Linked DNA regions of Homo sapiens: region 1 is linked to region 2. Evidence: promoter capture Hi-C in human tissues and cell types (Jung and others, 2019). All regions are on one chromosome and are shown on one strand. Each heading gives the region's core, a stretch centred on a gene start or on the middle of the fragment in contact. The rest is flanking DNA. Distances are from core to core; before and after follow the strand shown.

What was found. The method cuts DNA at HindIII sites, captures the fragments that hold promoters and counts their contacts. A contact is called where the count stands out against the background at its distance.
Region 1: a fragment that was not itself captured here is called in contact with the fragment with the promoter of DSG2 in region 2 in 1 of the 25 tissues and cell types used here (H1 embryonic stem cells).

The regions. Positions count from the first base shown.
Region 1 is chr18:31,293,423-31,300,912 of GRCh38, reverse strand. No RefSeq gene overlaps it. Among named protein-coding and RNA genes, the nearest start is that of DSG1, 21 kb to the left of the region's middle. The HindIII fragment of the contact is 5,468 bases long and covers 2,139-7,490 here.
Region 2 is chr18:31,494,948-31,501,609 of GRCh38, reverse strand. It overlaps DSG2 (desmoglein 2), which reads right to left and starts at 3,433. Exons shown (of 15, transcript NM_001943.5): 1 at 3,314-3,433. The coding sequence starts at 3,358. RefSeq lists enhancers at 1,079-1,188, 3,904-4,043 and a silencer at 3,234-3,703. The HindIII fragment of the contact is 8,335 bases long and covers 1,534-6,662 here.

The DNA.
Region 1 (7,490 bases), core at 3,623-6,122, 200 kb after region 2:
CACAGCATACCAAAGATTCTCCTTTTCTGATTGCCCTTTTTATTGACAAGATTTTTGGATCTGGAAATGTTCCATGGGACTAGATATCCCATTGTGAAATCTCCATGTCTTTCTGCCTAATTCTAAACACAGGGGCTTTTTGACATTGAATGGGGCCTTATCCAATAAGGTTCTGCTTAAGCCAGGGTTCCCTCATGCCAGGATCCTTGGTAAGATGCAGTTTAGACTTCAAGAGTTACTTCCTCTTTAAAGAGGGCATTTCCCAGAGACCTTCTTTGTTGTGAGGGAGGTGGTACAAATAAGGTCACAATCCTGCACTACAGTATGGTCTGAGTGTCAGCAGGAATTCCACCTGCTCCTCGGAACACCCTTGCCTCCACCCACACTCACAGCCAACATACACTCACTTGGTGAAAGAATACCCATCAATTCTTATAACAGAGAAAAGATCCTGGTAGTAAAATAACTTGAGAAAGTGATGGATAATAAATTTACAGAGGCCTGCCAACTAGTAAAATTCAACAATTTATTTATTCATGCAATAAACATGGATTGAGTTCTTATTATGTTTCAGATGCTATGCTGGGTGTTGAGGAGTGAAGATACTCATAAGGAGGTCACAGTCCAGAGAGCATGATGCCCTCATGGAGAAAATGCAAGCACTGTTTTGTATTTATAGGTATATTATTTATTTTCCTCAGGTCAGAGGAGCCCAGCCTGTAAGCTAGGAGCTTAGAGGGCTGAAATAATTGCAAGGAACCTCTGAAATCTTACATTTACTCATCAAATTTTATAGACTTATTAATTGATAGATACAAATTTATATATTTTCCATTCATTATTTAAAGTAAATGAATAGTAAATATGTCCAAGTAGCTATTCAAATTTTCAAATATTTATAAAAATCATCTCATTTATAAAATCCAATAAAATTAATAAAATGTAAATTAAATTAGTTGTAGCTTTAGTCATTTTTTGGTAGATATTAACAGTAATATTACAATATAGTAAAAAGGTTTTTATCTAAACACAAGCTAAATCAATATTTAAAAGGAGACTCTCATATTCTAAAAATACAAACCCTTGGAGAACCACTGACCATTTAAACTGCTAACATAAGTGAGCCAAGACATAGTTTTTAAAACAAATAATGAGTAATTTATTACTATTGTTTTTTCAACCACAAAGAATTTTTAGTTTGTAATATTTAATGTTATAGTCTTTGATTTATTCCACTGGTGTTTACTGAGTGCCTACAACAACTATATGTTGCATCTGGCACAGAATATTGTATAAAAACTTGATATGTATTTTTGAGATTAACTATTTAAAAACAAGATATATGAATAAGTTAATTTTTCTGTAATGACTCTATTTTTCTCATTAATTTGTACATAAGATGTTAATGTTTCAGATAAAATGTAATTGACCTTGCTAAATAATACTGTCTTCAGGTAAAAATGCAGGCAAAAAATGAATGCAGCACAATGTCTTTTTTATTACAAAAACTGGAAAAAACTTAGATATCCTCTAATCTGCTCCATGACCTGATATTTATTTATTTATTTGTTTTTTCACAAATACAACCTTTATTGTTAGCAGGGTCTCTACTAAGGGAATAGCAGAGATTACAAATATGAAAAAGTAACCCTGCCCATAAAGAAAAATGGGTGTAAAATGACCAGATACACAGAGTCTGGAACTTTCCCTTTGTGTCTGTTTCTGCCTAGACTCCTTATTATGAGTTTATTTGTTTATTTTTTATATTTTTATTTATTTATTTATTTTTGGAGACAGAGTCTTGCTCTGTCACCAGGCGCAATCTCTGCTCACTGCAACCCCCGCCTCCTGGGTTTAAGCGATTCTCCTGACTCAGCCTCCCGAGTAGCTAGGACTACAAGTGCATGCCGCCTGTATGTTTAGTAGAGACCCGGTTTACCATGTTGGCCTGGAAGATCTCTATCTTTTGACCTAGTGATCTGCCCGCCTCGGCCTCCCAAAGTGCTGGGATTATAGGCGTGGGCCACTGTGCCCTGTCCTATTTTTTTATTTTTTATTCTATTTTAAGTTCTGGAATACAAGTGCAGAATGCGTAGGTTTGTTACATACGTATACATGTGCAATGGTGGTTTGCTGCACCTATCAACCTGTCATTTAGGTTATAAGCCCTGCATAAATAAGCCATTTGTCCTAATGCTCTCCCTCCCCTTGCCCCCAACCCCATGACTGGCCCCAGTGTGTGTTGTTCCCCTCCCTGTGTCCATGGGTTCTCATTGCTCAACTCCCACTTCTGAGTGAGAACATGCAGTGTTTGGTTTTCTGTTCCTGTGTTAGTTTGTTGAGGATGATGGCTTCCAGCTTCATCCATGTCCCTGCAAGGGGATATGATCTCATTCTTTTTTATGGCTGCATAGTATTCCATGGTATATATGTGCTGTATTTTCTTTATCCAGTCTATCATTGATGAACATTTGGGTTGGTTCCAAGTCTTTGTTATTGTAAATAGTGCTGCAGTTAACATACATGTGCATGTGTCTTTACAGTAGAATGATTTATATTCCTTTGGGTATATACCCAGTAATGGGATTGCTGGGTCAAATGGTATTTCTAGTTCTAGATCCTTGAGGAATTGCCACACTGTCTTGCACAATGATCGAACTTACTTACATTCCCACCAACAGTGTAAAATCATTTCGCTTTCTCTACAGCCTCACCAGCATCTATTGTTTCTTGACTTTTTAATAGTCACCATTCTGACTAGCATGAGATGGTATCTCACTGTGGCTTTGATTTGCATTTCTCTAATGACCAGTGATGTTGAGCTTTTTTTCATGTGTTTTTTGGCCACATAAATGCCATGATCTCATATTTAAATTACCCCCTTATATCATATGTTTGATGGGAAATTGTGAAGAATTTGTTAAACTTTTCAAAGCTCATAAATGAATAAATGTATTGCAGTAAACCTAAATAGTGTTGTTTATATTTAAATAAGTAAAGGGATATAAGCACTGAAAGTGAAAATGTAATAAAAAATCAGAAATTCTGTTAGTGTGATTATCTACCATATGCATTTTACTGCAGTAGAGATAGCAGACAAAAAGATTTTCAAATTTAATGAACGTAGTTGAACACCTCCTTAACTCCTAACTTTAAAGTATATTTTACATGAAATGTTCACTTCTTTTGCATTCTTAGGAAATGAATCAATCACCATCTTTTGAAACATCCTTATTTTTAAGGACGGAGTATACAGTTTAGTTTATTTAATTGTCTTTGAATTTCAGAAAGTTGTGGCATTTAAAACTGAAGATTATCTAAATTTGCTAAAACATAAGTTGATGCTCTAGTATTTTGGGTCATGTGTAGGACTAGCCAATACTTGATAGCATTGAGCAAATGAGTAGATTGTGACAGTCTTATCCATCTTCTCAATCTAACTGCTTATATACCTAAGGGCCTGTTGCTTACTAGGGGCTATTACACATCAGGATGGTATTTGCAGAATCTAGCCAGGTGATGGCTTTCTTGAACATTGGACAGCTGTTGAATTTGTGAGAACGATGCATACAAAAGTTCACTAGACCCCTACCTGAAAGCAGTATCGGGTCAAAGTGATGATTTATTTGTATTTATATGTATATTATTCACCAAATTCTCTAACTTGGGGGTAAATATTTGATTTAAACAGTAAGCCCTTAATTTCAAAATGATTTTGGAAACTCTTGCATGCATCACCTTCACAAATTCATTGACGGTCCAATGTTCAGGAAAATCATTACCTGGCTAGATTCCGCAAAATGATTTTGAAATTTGAGACATTACTAAAAGCTAAATGGTCTTTCTTTTACTGCCGAACCAAATATTTGTTCCTTTAGATATACCTCCCAGATAATGCCATAACCATAAATGCTACCTCACACTCAGCTTATGAGGCATGTCTAAGTTGAATTAGAATAAAACTTATGAAACTCAGGAAGCATTTGACCATTGTCCTATGTCCACTGCTATCTTATTATCCTGTGAGCTGGTATAGTTGCTTTATGTCAATATTACTATTATTTTGGTAAATTAATAGGTCTGCTAAATGTATATTCTCAGTGAGAACTTGTTAAACTTGTTTGTTTCTGAGTAGGTGTGCCCAATTAGCATAAATTCATACTCAGACTTGTTATTTCTTTGGACCAACTTAAGTTATTCACATAGAACTTAGCTTTGTTGGGAGGCCGAGGCGGGCGGATCACGAGGTCAGGAGATCGAGACCATCCCGGCTAAAACGGTGAAACCCCGTCTCTACTAAAAATACAAAAAAAAAATTAGCCAGGCGTAGTGGCGGGCGCCTGTAGTCCCAGCTACTTGGGAGGCTGAGGCAGGAGAATGGCGTGAACCCGGGAGGCGGAGCTTGCAGTGAGCCGAGATCCCGCCACTGCACTCCAGCCCGGGCGACAGAGCGAGACTCCGTCTCAAAAAAAAAAAAAAAAAAAAAAAAAAAGAACTTAGCTTTGAAGACAATGCATTCTTAATATTTCAAACACAGAAGCTTTAAGAAAAGAACTAATTTTTAAAAGTTTCACATCATTTGTGACATTATAAATCAGCTTTTCTTGGTAGTATTCCAGAAAGTTATGGTTAATTTTTGAAGACAATGCATTCTTAATATTTCAAACACAGAAGCTTTAAGAAAAGAACTAATTTTTAAAAGTTTCACATCATTTGTGACATTATAAATCAGCTTTTCTTGGTAGTATTCCAGAAAGTTATGGTTAATTTTTATAACATCTTTTGTTCATTTTTAATTAAATTGTTCCTTGAGAAGAATTGTCATGTCTTTTGGTCTCAGGGTTCTTTTTCACAAAGGAAAAATGGTAGGTTGGTTGAAGTGTGGCTGCTTTTAGTTCTAACAGGTTGTGATTCTAGGAAGTAAATATTTTTGTAATAAGTACATTTTCTTATGAGAAAGGAAATTTTAAAATTGCATTAAGAGTAGCTGCTGCATAGTTGGTTGTGTGTGTGTGTGTGTTTTTTTTCTTTTTGAGACAGAGTCTCACTCTGTCGCACAGGCTGGAGTGCAGTGGCACGATCTCAGCTCACTGCAACCTCCACCTCCCAGGCTCAAGCGATCCTCCTGCCTCAGCCTCCTGAGTAGCTGGGATTACAGCTACTGTAATCCTACTGTAGTAGTAGCTGGGACAGGCGCCCACCATCATGCCCGGCTAATTTTTTGTATTTTTACGTGAGACGGGGTTTTACTACATTGGCCAGGTTGGTCTCGTCCTCTTGACCTCAAGTGATCCACTTGCCTCAGCCTCCCAAAGTTCTGAGATTACAGGTGTGAGCCACCGCACCCTGCCACAGTTGGTTCTTATTGTAATATATAATTCCAGTGTTTTATATTTAATTAGAAAGAATACGCTAATTATTAACATCAATTTATTGCACTAAGAGAGCCCATGCCATCTTCAAAATTTAAAAAAGTCTGTCGAATATGAATGTTTCCTGTGAATTTCATCTTGCAGAGAGTAAGATTATAAGGTAATGGATGAAACCAGAATATCACTCTGATCATAAAAACCTAGAAAAACCTCTAAATTACCGACAAACAACAATATACTTTGTGAACATAAACTTACGTAGTGGTATAAAGTTACACATGTCTGATGGAGGAGGTAGGGTAGTAGTCGTGGAGTGTGTCAGCCTGGGTTTAAACCCTGGTCCAATCACTTCCATCTATGTGACCCCGGGAAAGTTATTTAACCTTTCTGTACCTCAGCTTCCTTATTGATAAAATAGGACTAATACCAGCACCTACCACATAGTGTTAGGAGAATTAAGTGATTTAATATATGTGCCAGGCACAGAGCAAGTGCTGAATAAGTGTTGGCTATTATAATTACAACACTGAAATATACATAATATATTAAAGTACATGCATCCTATCTAAATTCCCATTGTTTTTCAAATGTGTGGTTGAATTCACAGGAATTAATTTTGCATATGATATATTTGGTGTATTTGGTTCCTTCCTCTGGTGTGTTATATTAATTTATGTTTTCTTCAGTGTATAGGTATATACACTTGGTAAGAGTGTAAAAGGTATTTCTTGTGATGGGTTATGGTAAAAAAACAAAAGGGATTAAACATGACTGTCCCATAGCATCCAAATTCCTCCCTAGTTAAGTGCCTTCTGAAAATTAAAGCCTTAGTTTTTTTTTTTTTGCTTTCTCTAGTGAACAATGAGCAGTAAAACTGGCTCCAGGGATGGAGAGTGAAGATAATGGTATAACTAGCTTGGGAGAGCAGGCGATCGCCTCAGGGTGTCCACTGGGCGAGGAGCAGAGGCGGCAGGTGGGGAGGTAGAAATGGGTGGAGAAGTCCCAGAGCAAGCAGTAACCTGTGCTCAGACTCTGGGCTGGGCTGGACTGATGGGTGGGGAGGCTTCTCTGCGATTAGGCATGTTTGGTCCTTGAACAGATTGAGTGCAGGTTGAGAGAAAGGAGAGAAAGTGTGAAAGTGTTTTAGGGCATGTAATGCAGTTCTAAGGAGGATAGCACTGTTGAAACTTGGGAAGGAAAAGAGAGGAATAGATAGGGCAGGGGCAAATGGTGAGGGGTGTTGGGGAGAAGTGATAAAAATGAAAGTTGGAATCAATTGAATAAGATTTGGGCCAGGTGTAGTGTCTCTTGCCTGTAATCCCAGTACTTTGGGAGGCCATGGCAGGAGGATCACTTGAAGCCAGGAGTTTGAGACCAGCCCGGGTGATGTAGTAAGACCCTGTCTCTACAGAAAAAAAAAAATCAGTCAGGCAAAGTGACATACATCTGTTAATTCCAGCTCCTCAGGAGGCTGAAGTGGGAGGATTCCTTGAGCCCAGGAGTTGGAAGCTGCAATGAGCTATGATTATTCCATTGCACTCCAGACTGTGCAGAATGAGACCCTATCTCAAAAACATAAAAAAAGGGAAAAGAGTCTGTACACACTAGACTCCTTATGACTGAAATGATGTGCTAGTGCTCCTTAAGCTAAATTGAACCTAATAATTAGGCCAATAAGACCTAAATTGAACAATGGCAAATCAATGCAATGGTGTGGTTCACAGGTTGTACTGTTTGCAGTGTTTACGAACAAAAAGTTGTTGCTGCATGAGTAAAGTCCGAAGTTTCATTTCTGGAGCTAATGATGAGCCTTTATCTAATTGTAGTCTTCATAAGGAATTAAAAAAGCACAAAGGGTATTGATGTGATTTTCAGTGTGATATGTTTGGAGACTTTTCTAAGGAGATATTGAACCATCCAGGAAACTAGCCAAAGGTTGTAGTTATCCATTAAATCTGATAAACAAATTGTAGAGAAGCACAAAAAGGCAGTCTGTGAGAAAAAGTAAAAGTACTTCTGGTCCTTTTAATTGTAACTGATCTTTTAACCGATACAGGTCCCATCTGCTAAAACTCACCCCTGGATCACTAAAAAGACCATCCTTTCAACCACCAAGCA
Region 2 (6,662 bases), core at 2,184-4,683:
GAATGCACCTACAAGAGAAGGAATGACAAAGATTGCCAACAAACCAGTATGCACTTGGAAGAGGAAAGGAGGGAAACTGGTTTCAGAGGGAGCATGGCCCTGCCCATATCTTGATTTTGGATTTCTAGCCTCTGGAACTGTGAGATCATACATTTTTGTTGTTTTAAGCCACTCAGTTTTTAGCACTTCGTTACAGCAGTCCTAGCAAACTAATACCCTACTAAATATATCTGCTCACAGTGTGATCTGCTATCATTGAATCCTTAAAATGTAGTTTGATTTTAAAGCACAAGCTTCATTAGTCGAACCCAAAATTGAAGCAACCATCAGGAAATCTCTCACCCACGAGCCCTCCTTGGCAATCTGGCGAGGCCTATGAACCCCTTCTCAGATTAATGATTTCAAATGTATAAAATAAAATACAGGGGATTATCAATGAACCCAATTATATTGAAATAGTTATCAGCATTTTTAAAATACCAATTTGTGATGCAGCAGTATCATGTATTTTATTAACATATTAAGTAAAAGATCTAGTAGAAAGTCTATTAGTGATGTTCAGAATAAATGGTATTTTGAGATCACCATAAGATGTAAAGGTATTTATGAATTCTATTGTGATAGTCACAGCTACTGCTCACACTACTGTGCAGTGTCTTCCCCACACTCATAATTTAAAGAAATACTAAATTTCAGTCCGAAGTTAGTTAAAATATATATGTAATTAATTCCTTGCCATCTCTAGGAACTCTTTGAATTCTATCTGTGAACCATTTGGGAGTTGATGGATTGCAAAGAACCCTTGAAGAGGAAATATTCTCTGATTTTATTCAGAAAATTATTTCTTTTTCCCATTTTGATACAGCTGGCCTAAATGTTTGATAGCTATGTGGGTGACACAGCTACCTTCTGGTGTGTCTCCCTGCACTGCTGAGGAAAGCGAAAGACCATGTGTCACAGACTCCACTGCAGGCTTCGTTCTGAATGGGGTTTGGGTTCAATTAGTATTTACATGAGATTTGAAAGAAGGAAGTGAAACAGAGCTCTGTGCCTCCTGGCAAGCAGATATGGACGTATGGAGCTGGGTTCTTTGTAGTCATCTTATTATGGCTCTAGTGTCCAGCTACTAGATTTGTGAACACCAAGAGGCAAGGTACAAGCATCCATGTTGTTATGCATCCTAGCAGATGTGGCATGCATGGGTCTGCAGCTGGTAGCAAAAGTAGCACCCTGATCACAGCAGTTTTTCAGACTGTGGGAGTGGCAGTGCAGTTCCTGGTCACAGGAGAGGCAGCAGCTCCCTAAGCGGTGTGGCTCTGCTGTGTGGCTTTGAAGTCATTACTGACAGCTCAAATGGCAGTCTTCTCAATCCTTCCTACACTTAGGTAGTCAGTTTAGTGCCCCGAAATAAACCTATTCTTGCTTTAAATAGCTAGAGTAAATTCCGTTATTTGCAACTGAACTCTGATCTAACAGACTACAATTTATATTCCTTCCAATAAAGGACCTGTTTCCTTGGCAACTACTTCTGTCAGATGAGTTGCTTTCCATTTTTTTTTTTTTTTTTTTTTTTACCAAAAAACTGCAACTGCAAACACACTGGGGGTAAAATGCTGCATTGCCCACTACTCTCTGGACAAAAATAAACATATTCAAATTTATACTGCAGAAAGTTTTATAGAAAATACATAGAACAGTCCAAGAATTTTGCTCCTGTTCCATTGGCTATAGTCGCTTTCTAAAGGAGATGTTTATTACTGCCCAATAAGGTAAAAGTATCAAATTGCTAAAATGAAAGATATGCCTAATTTGCTTACCTGCTACTCTGTGAGTGTACAAATTGGCCTGATTGCTACATTATTTGAAGATTAAAGGTCATTTATTTTCATATATGGAAAGAATATGTAACTCTCAAAGTAAGCTAGGTGTTACATTAGCTTGGGATTCTCCTTAAACAAGGAAACATCAAGGTGACAGGATTAGTTGTTTTGCCAGCCCAGAGGCTAAAAACGACGTCCCAGATCACGTCTTAGAAAAGTTTTGTCAACAAAATGAATTTTCATTGAAAGTTACCTCAAGGACACGGGGAAAATGAAATGGATAAATAGAGCATGAAAATGAACTGTGTGCTAGGCCTGGACGCCCTAATTATCATGCTCTTCCACCTGAGAGTTCATGGAAATCTCTAGACTGGATTCAGTCACGCCTTTTTCCGTTTTGAGACACACACACACACACACACACACACACACGATTTTCTTCCACATCCCACCAAAACTCGAGGATAGAAGGGCTCATGTTTTGGAAGTTAGAACTTTGAATATAGTGAATGTATTTGCATTTTTAATTATTACGTAAGAAAACTGAGTATGATTTTGCATCTAATCTCTGTAAACACATATTTGTGAACTCTCTGGAAGGTGAACTCACACCTATATTTGCAGCATAACTGTCACTTTATTAAAACCCCTTTAGTAAACCCCTATAAGCGAGATACATACGTGCAACCCCTTAAACAAACAGAAAACCAACAGTTTAAAATCCAATTTGAGCAAAAGAACTCTAAATCCAGGGACTGAACGTCGTTTCCGGGAGTGAGGGGTGGGGCGTGGGGGAGGGGGCGCTACACTTCCATTTTCTGTAACCTTTTAAATGAATAAGGCTTCAAACTATTACATATGTTTATTATCTTTAATATTGGAAAACTTTTGAAACACCAACTTCATAAACTTTAAGTTAAAACTATATGTGGGTGATCCACTTAAAATTAAGCTTTGTAAATTACACCTTTTTAAAAAATTTTTAGCCAACTTTTTGCACTCTAAGAATACAAGTATGTTCCTGGTTTCCCCAGTTCACTGGCTTGTGTCGGCGGCTAGAGGAGCTGGGGAATCCTAGGGAAATTTAAGGAACGTGGAAGAAGCGCGAGGTTGTTCCCTATTGCCTCCACGTTTCTCGTCCCAGAGACTCTCAACAAAGCCTCCGACCCCCAGCAATGGTGTTCCCCGCCCCAGGGCTCACTACACCCACACACCACAGAAAAGGGCGCTGGGGCCTGGGTGACGCGGGAAGGAAAACACAACTTCGATAGGTCGCAACTTACTCTCCTGGCTCCAGCCAAGAGGATTTTCCGAAGCCCCAGGTCGGATCTCGCCGCAGCCTGCCCGGCCCTTTTCCCCCCTCGGGCAGCAGGAAGGAGCGCCGGGCAGGTAACGCGCACAAGGGCGGCGGGCAAGTCTGGTCGCGAGGTCTAGACCTCGCCTACCGACGCCCTCCCCGGCGGTGGCTCCCCTGTCCCGCTTGCGGCACTTACCAGGAGAAGCAGCAGGGCGTACGCGCGTCCCGGGCTCCGCGCCATCGCACCCTCGCCTCCGCCTCCCGCCGCCGCACCGCTCCGCGCCGCCGCCTGCCCCGAGCGCGCACTCGGCTCCTCCCTGGCCCCGGCCTCCCCCCGGCCCGGCCACCCTCTCCCTCCCCGCCCCGAGGGCTGTCTTCCCGTGGCGGTTGCGCGGCCCAGCCCAGCCCAACCCAAAGGCGCGGCTCCAGGTGTGGCCGCCGCGAGAAAATGGAGCCGGGGGCCGGCCCGGGCCGCTTTTACAGAGGTGGGGAGTTCAGCAGAGGAGGGAGGCGCGGGGTGGACTCCCGCCCGCTCGCACTCGCACCTGGGACCGTGACGTCCTTGGGTTGGGGACTGTGGGTGGCAGGCCCCGCCCCGCCGTTCTCTCCTTCCCGACCCCCTACTCTCTGGAGAATGGCGGGAGGAGGGAGCCTCCTGGCGGGGCTCGACCTGGGTAGCGCGGGTCGCAGGGCCCCGGCCCAAGGACAAAAGCTCCACGGAGCAGAGTCCTGCGGGACCAACCGGCCCAGTGGCTGCGGGGCCAGGCCGCCCAGCACCGCCCAAAGGTCCCGCACTTTGTGATTGTGCTTTGGGCCCGGAGCGCAGGTGTCGCTAGTGACATGGGGACCCGTGTCCTCAGGAAAGCTGCGACCGCGGTGCGTTCGGCCCGCTCTCCTGGAGCGGAGGTTGTGGAGCAGAATTTCAGGTGGCTGTCTCCCCAAAGGCTGCTCTTCCCTATGGCCCTTCACTGCTTCCAACAGGTTTGCAGCTTATCTGGCTCAAGGAGAAACAATCACCAGAGGTCAAAAAGGACAATTCTTGGGCTAGGAGAAAACTCTAGGGTGTTACGGGAAATATATATATTCTTTGAAATGATTTACAATTTCTATTACACCACTAGCTAGATCAGAGGCCCCGCTCCAAGAGTGACTAGCTGAGTGGCCTGGACTAGCCTCTCTGGGCCCCAGTTTCCAGATCTGTCAAATGGAGTTAATAGCGACCAACGCACGGGGAAGTTTTGAGAACGAAATTGGAAAATCTTAGGTAAAGCATTCTGCAGTGTCTAGAACTTAAGGGTTCAATAAATAATTGTTAAAATTAGAACAACGTGATTGCGAGGTGAGATGTTAAATTGACATCTTGAAAAGCAGAAACTTAGTATGGGCATCCAAACACTAGAATCAGCACCGGATTACGAAACTTCCAAGAAATGTAACGACTGAAAGTAATGGACGAGCCTATTGTTCTGTGCGAGAAAGGCGCAAGGGGAGAAGAAAAGACACACACACCATACTTTTAAGGGTAAACAACCTTTATCCCAATTAAATGGCAACGCGGATATAATAAGCAAATGATATAATAAGCAAATTGCAATGGGAAGGGGAGAAGGAAAAGATATATTTATAGGTACACTCACCAGACTGTGGAGGATTCACCACCACACCGGGAAGCAACAGCCTGGGCTCCAGAGTCGGACACTACACTCACCAGACTACAGAGGATTCTCATGAAGTTTCCTCATGGTCTGGGACCCTAGCTCTTATCGTAACAAGTTGTTTGGCATGAGACCCAGTCACAAGGGCCCTTCCCGACTGGACTCAAGGAACACAAAAAGGTCAACTTGTGTTTGCGATTGTCTGTTGTGTTTCAATAACTAACAAATAGGAATTTAAATAGAGATTTATTTGAAACAGCGCTCGATGAATTCCTCAAGGGGCTCACACCACCTGTTCTGGGACTTGGTGGCCATTGTTTGTGTCCATGTTCAATTGAGTTCAAATTTAATATTTAAGTTTTCCTCCACATTCGGCTTCAATCTGATACTCAATCGCAGGAAAATACCCCTACAGATACATGGGGAAGGCATAGTTGATAGAGATTACAGATACAGGGTAAGCACAGGAGAATTAAAAGCAAAATTAATAACACACCCATCATGGCTTTGCAAGGAGAGTAATATTGTGAGAATTGTCAGGGATATACACATAACATCCAGTGCAGTAAGGTGCAAACCCCTCCTTGGGCTGCAGTAAGCATATCTAATGCCTTTCCATTTGCAACACAACAGTACATAGCTGAGCAAATTCATCTGATAACAACATACATCCAGTGCTACTATCATTAAGAGCTTTTCTTAGAAGTGAGCTTAATGTTTTAATTTGTTGCTGAAGCAGGATTGTATCAGCTGCAGGGGAGAATGCTGTGATAGGATACCACCCCTACGGAGTCGGATGCATTCTAACCAGGGATGTTTGTAAGCATCTAGATTACTGGGGAGGGGAATATTATCCCGGATGGTGAATGGAATTAATGGCCACCCCCAAGTGCATATCCCCATCCAATATGGGGGCAGGTATCGCTACCCATAGGATCCGCATACCCAGAGGGCCCCGCAGGGGACAGCAATGGAGTTACTGTAATCATAGTGTACTAATGTGTTATAAAAGTAGGAAAGAGATTGTGTTTCATTGGGGGTAATGTTGTTGATTTGGAGCATGTGTTGACAATTGTCTGGCAGGAGAAACCCCAGAGTACCAAGGCTTGGTTTGGTCAAAGAAAGTCCAGGTTGGATTGCAAGTGTTGTTGTTGTGGTCCCATTGGTAGCGACATAGTCATTCAGAAATGTTAGCAGGGAGGATTCTCCAAGGTAGCTCATTCCCACATAGCCAACATTGACTGTGGTTGGCTTCCTCTGCAGCGGTGGCTACCCAGTTGATGAATTTAATCTTGGCGTCAGACACAAAGACACAGGTGCTGACCATTAGTAGATAGGTTATTCCATGTGATAACAAAAACAGAGGGGAACATGATATTGTTTTTCATCTTTAGGAAATTGTAGTGTGCTTCATTTTCTGCTCCTATAGCTACAAGGTCACCAGTCTTAAGGGTGGGACCTGATGGACGCTGTACCCATATTTTGGCTCCAGGATTTTGGCTCCAGGATCTGAATCCCCCAGTTCTGCATGTAGCCTCTGTTGGGGCAGATTTCCTCAGGGGTTAATTGCTGACAAGGTTCCACTAACAATTGAGCAACCTGCATCTGAGGTTTTATAGCAAAAGAATCTGGAGTGGTATTGTATAAAATGACCTTTAACTCTCCCCGGTAAGCACTATCAATTATACCACCATACATTATAAAGCCTCTCATTGCAAGTCTTGAACATGTTGTAATCCATTCATCCACATTCAAGTTTGCAGTTATGGTGGAAATTTTGGCCTGTTGATCTGCCTGCTGATGAAATAGTCTGTCAAGAGCAAACAGACGCATGAGCATCAACATGGAAAACAGTGATAATGGTAGTGTGTGCCAGGATTCAGATATCTT